Regions from separate parts of the Homo sapiens genome. Here region 2 is linked to region 1. The links are contacts of gene promoters, found by promoter capture Hi-C in blood cells and fetal thymus (Javierre and others, 2016). All regions are on one chromosome and are shown on one strand. Each heading gives the region's core, a stretch centred on a gene start or on the middle of the fragment in contact. The rest is flanking DNA. Distances are from core to core; before and after follow the strand shown.

What was found. The method cuts DNA at HindIII sites, captures the fragments that hold promoters and counts their contacts. A CHiCAGO score of 5 or more calls a contact.
Region 2: a fragment that was not itself captured here is called in contact with the fragment with the promoter of MFGE8 in region 1 in 6 of 17 cell types (M0 macrophages, M1 macrophages, naive CD4 T cells and 3 more); the score reaches 7.8 in M0 macrophages.

What each region holds. Positions count from the first base shown.
Region 1 is chr15:88,911,613-88,914,951 of GRCh38, reverse strand. MFGE8 (milk fat globule EGF and factor V/VIII domain containing) reads left to right here and starts at 1,573. Exons shown (of 8, transcript NM_005928.4): 1 at 1,573-1,705. The coding sequence starts at 1,633. RefSeq lists an enhancer at 1,832-2,363. The HindIII fragment of the contact is 11,396 bases long and covers 1-3,291 here.
Region 2 is chr15:89,172,431-89,175,769 of GRCh38, reverse strand. The region is part of intron 5 of ABHD2 (abhydrolase domain containing 2, acylglycerol lipase); the gene reads right to left. Among named protein-coding and RNA genes, the nearest start is that of RLBP1, 47 kb to the left of the region's middle. The HindIII fragment of the contact is 4,890 bases long and covers 1-3,339 here.

The DNA.
Region 1 (3,339 bases), core at 324-2,823:
GGAGATGTGTGACTGTTCTATTTTGTTTGTTGGCTAGTCTGACTTAAATACTTATTAGTATTAGTATTGTTATTATTTTTTGAGACAGTCTCGCTCTGTTGCCCAGGCTGGAGTGCAGTGGTGCAATCGTGGCTCACTGCAGCCTCGACCTCTTGGGATCAAGCGATCTTCCCACCTCAGCCTCCTGAGTAGCTGGGACTACAGGCATGCGCCTGGAATATTTTTGTATTTCTTTTTTTGTAGAAACAGGGTTTTGCCATGTTGCCCAGGAAGGTCTCGAACTCTTGAGCTTAAGTGATATGCCTACCTCGGCCTCCCCAAGAGCTGGCATTACAGGCTTGAGTCACCACTCCCAGCCTGAAGCATTATTATTATTATTATTATTATTATTATTATTATTATTATTAGAGACAGAGTCTCACTGTGTCACCCAGGCTGGAGTGCAGTGGCATGATCTCGGCTCACTGGGACCTCTGCCGCCTGGGTTCAAGCGATTCTCCTGCCTCAGCCTCCCGAGTAGCTGGGATTACAGGCACCTGCCACTGCGCCCGGCTAATTTTTGTATTTTTAGTAGAGACGGGGTTTCACCATCTTGGCCAGGCTGGTCTTGAACTCCGACCTCAGGTGTTCCACGTGCCTCGGCCTCCCAAAGTGCTGGGATTACAGGTGTGAGCCACCGCACCCAGCCAAAACACTATTATTAAAATCACTTATTTGTAAACAGGTAATATTTGCACATGATAAGTACAAATCATTTAGTAAAAAGTCAACGGTGACAGGCTTGCTTTGTTTTATTCCCTTTCGGCAAACAGGTGCCCATTTCCTCGCATTTTGTCTATGGTGCCTTTCTTGCAACAAAGGCAGAGATGAATAGCTGCTACAGAGACTCAGGGCCTACATATCAGAGAACATTTTCTATTAGGCCCTTTACAGAAACCTTCGCTGATTTTTTTTTTTTAGTATTTTACCATTTCAGACAATGTTGCTATGCTATCTTTGTATATCTGTCATTTTGCACATGGGAGTTTCTGTAGAATGAATCTCTCTATGTGGAAATGCTAGGTCTTAAGGTGTCAGCATTTGTCGTTTTGATAGGTGTTACCAAATAGCCCTCTAGGGAAGTTGAACTAATTTATACTGTCTTCAGCGAAGCATGCTTGGACCTGTTCCCCACAGCCTCCACTAACCTTGTTAACATCTTGATACTTGCCGATCCGAGAAGGGAAACACGATGCTCATTGTAGTTTTAATTTGCATCTATCTGATTATGAATAAAGAGTTAGCATCTTTTCAAGTCTAAAAATCTTAAAAACAAAACTCCTGAACTTTTCCCGCCCAACAGACTCAAGACTCGTGACCCGGCCGTTGGCACGACGCGGGACGCCGGTGTGGCAGTGGCGGAAGAGGCAGATATCGCGGACCACCCCCGCGCCCCCCAATTCCTTTCAACCAATTCCCTCCCAGCCGCGGAGCCCCGCCCCCAGTCCGCCTCTGGCCAGCTTGGGCGGAGCGCACGGCCAGTGGGAGGTGCTGAGCCGCCTGATTTATTCCGGTCCCAGAGGAGAAGGCGCCAGAACCCCGCGGGGTCTGAGCAGCCCAGCGTGCCCATTCCAGCGCCCGCGTCCCCGCAGCATGCCGCGCCCCCGCCTGCTGGCCGCGCTGTGCGGCGCGCTGCTCTGCGCCCCCAGCCTCCTCGTCGCCCTGGGTGAGTGGATCGCGCCGCCCTCTGCCCCTCGCCCCTCCTCCCCGCGCCGCTCGGAAGTTTGCCCGGCGCCCGCCCTCCACCTCCACTGTTGACAAACTTAGACAAAGCCCCGGGGACCGGGCTGGGCAGAGGGGCGGCTTCTTCCGCTGCGCCCTGGCGGGACAGGGGGATGCGGCCCTGCTGTCTCTGCGCTGGGGCTTTTGGGCTGGGACTCGGGACATCGGGTGACAGCCCTGCCGCCCCCAGGGATGCGGCTTACAGATAATGACAAAGGAATCCGCTGTGTCGGGCCTCTCTTTTCCCTGGTGAAAAATGAGGCCAGGGAACTGCGTTTGACTTTCGAACCCCTTCCACCTGGGAGATTCTAGGACTCTAGTATGGATAAGTCTTGTCTGGATAACTTTGTCCTGGCCATCTCCCTGCCAACTCCAGTTGGCTGGACAGTTCATTGGATTTTTGCGCTCCCAATTGTCCGTGCCTGGTCACATAAGGGAAGGGCCGGGGAGTCGGTGCAATGGACGCAGGCCGTAAGTGGGGCCCGGGAGGGGACCCAGAGGCTTCGAGGAGCTTGGAAGAGGGCTGCCTGCTGATGGGAGTCTCCTGACTCCCTCCCTCCCGCGGCCTTGGCCGGCTGCTGTATCTTCCCCGGTCCTCCTCCGCCTCCCAGGAGGCCTCCGGAGGCCAGCTGGGCCCCTTGCAGGCTGGACTTGCGGATGCCCCGTGCCATTCACCGTGGAGCGCTGGGAGGGAGTCAGGGCCAGGACTCTTTAGGTGGCCCCTCCATCATTTTCTCATAGAAATGGGATTGACTGAAGCAAGGTAGGTAACAGCTGAGCCCCAGCCCTATGTCCTGTGATCTGCCTGACCCTCGGGGCTAGAGCTTCCAGAGTGCTCCAAGCTCCCAGGAACTTGGGAGCTCCTGGCCCTCCCCGGCCACCATGAAAGACAGCTGGATCTTCTTAGCCCCTTTCTACTCTTCCCTGTACCCCCCAACCTGAACTCTGGCCAAATGTTACTGGAAAGTCCCCGAAAGAGCAGGACTCTGAAGTCCCAAAGATGTTTTTATACAGGGTGATGTGGCCTTTTCCAGAAGGAGGAAACACCATACCTATCTTACACACAGGTAACGTGGCTGGGTAGAGTACACCTTTCCCTTTCCCTTTTTCCCACTGGACCGTTTTGCCCTGGAGCAGTGTAGGGAGAGGGCCGGTGCAGTTGGGAGGGAAGAGTCCATTCCCAACCCAAGCCTCTGTCTGTGTCAATGCTCGCCCCCGCCTGCCAGGTCAGAGGAAGGATTACCTGCTATTTAAAGCCAATGACTAATAGCTCCTTGGGAGCCACTTTAAGCTCCTGAGGCCCCTGGAGGGGGAGCTCTGAGGGCAGATCGCTCATTAATGGTGTTGTTGCCTTCCCTGGAGTGGGATGAAGGGGCTTTGAGATTTCAGGAGGACTCTCCAGCCTTAGATGGGTGACTCTGAGGGGGAGGCAAAAAGGTTTTTTTTTTTTTCTTTTTTCTTTTTGAGATGGAATCTTGCTGTGTCGCCCAGGCTGGAGTGCAGTGGCGCGGTCTTGGCTCACTACAAGCTTCGCCCGCTGGGTTCATGCCATTCTCTTTCCTCAGCCTCCCAAGTAGC
Region 2 (3,339 bases), core at 434-2,933, 260 kb before region 1:
TCCTATCTGGAGAAAATGCAAGCTGGAACGTTACTAAATGGGTGCCAGTATACTAAAAGAGAGAGAAATATATATGTGTATATATACGTGTGTGTGTCGGGGGATGTGTGTGGAGAGAGAGACAGACACTGCTCTTTGGCTATCCAGACAGAAGTTCCCAGATGCCCCTTGGGATAAGAGGAAACAGGGCCTCAGCAGTGCCAAAGCGTGGAGGTACCATGTATCAAATGTACAATGCTTCTTAAAAGGTAGGTCACAAGAACCGTGTCTAGATAATCATGGATATCAAAGCAGATTTCAGGGTGTGCATGAGCACATATGCTCACACACAGACCTAAATAAAAGCTAGGCCAGCCTGGACAAAATGGTGAGACCCCACCTCTACACACTACAGGTGTGTCCTTGTAGTCCCCGCTACTTAGGAGGCTGAGGCAAGAGGATCCCTTGAGCCGGGGAGGCAGAGGCTACAGTGAGCCAAGATCGCATCACTGCACTCCAGCCTGGGTGACAGAGTGAGACCCTGTCTCAAAAAAATAAAATAAGTAAATAAATAAATAAATGCAAGAGCAAAATCCTTTGAGATTAGCTTCCTAGGCTACAAATTGGGATGCTATACCCATGTGTATGATGATTCATGGTGTTAAGAAAAGTAGCAAGTGGATGTTATTTACAGAATCTTCTTGACAGAGTTGGAAAGGAGAGGAAAGATAAACTTCAGTCCAGAGGGACTGCCAGGATGCTCTGTAGGATTAGGGTAAAACGTTCTTGGTGACATAGGGACAGGGTGCCAAGGGAGGCAGGCTCATTCAAAAATACACAGATGAGACCTCTTAACAGAGAGGGTTGTTTGGGCCTCATTTGCCCAGGAGAGATGATCTCAGCTGGTGTCCCCTTGGGAAGTTATTGAAGCCATGTTATGTCTCAGCAGCTTTGCTAAGAGGAGGAGGTGAATGGCCATATTACAAGTGAAGGGATTCATCACATCCTTCTAAGGCCCAACCTCAAACTCTGTAGGGAGCCAATTTAAAATCTAACATGGAAAGATAGGGATGTCGACGCAAAGCACATACAAAATAGACTGGCATGAGAAGAGTACGGATTTACAATGGAAACGGGAGTTGTTGACTTTGGCACCAGCTCAGAGGTTTTGGCATTCTTAATAGAGTTGAACAGCTCCTTCCCTAATCATCAAGCCATGGGGGAAAGTATCTTTTGAGCCTGGGGTAAACTCCCCTTATATCTGTCTTCTTTTGTGGTAGGATGTAGCCTAAGCCAGGCCGGCACAGCCCCATGCAGTTCTTAAGCTGCAGTGTGCATAGAATCACCTGGAGAGGGTGTTAGAAATGACCATTCCTGGGCCTCAACTCCAGAGAAGCTGATTCTGTAAGATGGGGACCAAGCCCAGGAATCTATAGTGACTTTGTTTTTGAGTAGGTAATTCATGCCCATGGTAGAAAATTCAAATGCTGTAAAAGATGGAGTGAAAGGTAAGTTTCCTATATTCTTTTTAAAAATACCAGTGGTAACATACACATTGTTCGGTGGCTCTTTTTTTCCCTTTACAATATGTCTGGCAATATTATGCATCAATACACTTGAAACTGCCCTATTCTTTTTTATTTTTAATGGGGTATAACATACATACAGGAAAATGCACAATCAATGAAATTTTACACATTTATACCCAGGTAAGCATTGCCCAGATGAAGACGCAGAATATTTTTGACACCCCTGGAGGCCTCCTCATGCCTCTTCCCAGACAGTATCCCCTATACTTTTGACTAATAATCATGATCTGGAAATGCTGGGGGCTTAGAAGGAGCTTAAGCAAGAGATGCCTAAAACTAAGGGAAAAACCGGGCCAAGAGCTGCTTCCTCCCAAACAGCAGGACCCAGGCACCAACTTTGAGAAGGCAGCCCGTCTCCCTCTCCAGTGAGATAGTAGAGGATCAAGCTGCTTATTTTTCTCCCTCTTACACTCAGCAGAGGCTGGGGCAGTTTGCAGGCCTTCAATAAAGAGTTGCTGAATTGAGTGGATTCTGATGACAAGGCCTCTGAATGGGCCCTGAGGACAGGGAAGGAACAAAAACCTGGTCCAGAAGGATCCTTGAACTCTTAACTTTGGAATGTGAAATGCCAGACTGTTGTCCCCACCGAAGTCAGATTCATTCAAGTTTCTTTTTGTTCGTTTGTTTTTGAGACAGAGTCTCGCTCTGTCACCCAGGCTGGAGTGCAGTGGCACAATCTTGGCTCACTACAACCTCTGCCTCTCAGGTTCAAGCGATCCTCCTGCCTCAGCCCCCTGAGTAGCTGGGGTTACAGGCATGTGCCACCATGTCCAGCTAATTTTTGTATTTTTAGTAGAGACAGGGTTTTGTCTTGTTGGCCAGTCTGGTCTTGAACTCCTGACCTCAGGTGATCTGCCTGCCTCCGCCTCCCAAAGTGCTGGGATTACAGGCATGAGCCACTGCCCTGGCCAAGTTTCTCTTTTTAAGAAGGTAGCAATGGAAGGAATATTATGCCTCCAGGGAATGCTGGATTTCAAAATGTAGCTGTGATATAAAAAAGGGGATGTGCAAACAAACAGCTGAGAGCACAATGAGCAATTAGCTGATATCAGCTTCTACACCACGCAACAAATAAAAAATTTAGAAATCCCAAAGGAGACATTTGTTCACCTCCCTTGGGCCATAACAGGCACTGAAAACCAGGCCTTAAAGGAGCAGCCTGGCCTCATGGCTAAGTGAAAAGGCCCTGTGGCCAGACTGCTTGGGCCTACCACTTAGTGGCCCCAAATGTTCTCAATTTCTCTTTGATGACAAGTAACCCCCGTATACAGGGAAAATCTTCAGCTTCCAGGCTCCTTTCTGGAGGCTTAGAACCTACAGGAATAGGATGAGGCCTGGGAATGGGAACTTTCAACAAACAGCCCAGACAATTTTTGTAGTGAGGAAACTGTGCAAAATACCGTTACCTTGGGTAAGTTACCAAACTCTCCTAGGTCTGTTTCATCATCTGTAAAATGGAAGTAACAAGAGTAAAGACTTCGTAGAGTTGTTTAGAGATGTGAATAAAGTGATATACATAAACAGCTTAGATCAGGGTCCAGAGCATAATAAGCATTCAATGTTAATGGCTATAACTGACTCTAATTATTTTCTCTTTTAAAAATATGTAAGTATACCCATGTTTATAGCAGCATTATTCACAATAGCCAAAAAGTGGAACCAACCCAAGTGTGCCTTGATGGATGAATGGATAAGAGCAATGTGGTACATGTGTACAATGCAATATTATTCAGCTTTAAAAGGGAAGGACATCCCGTCACATGCTACAGCA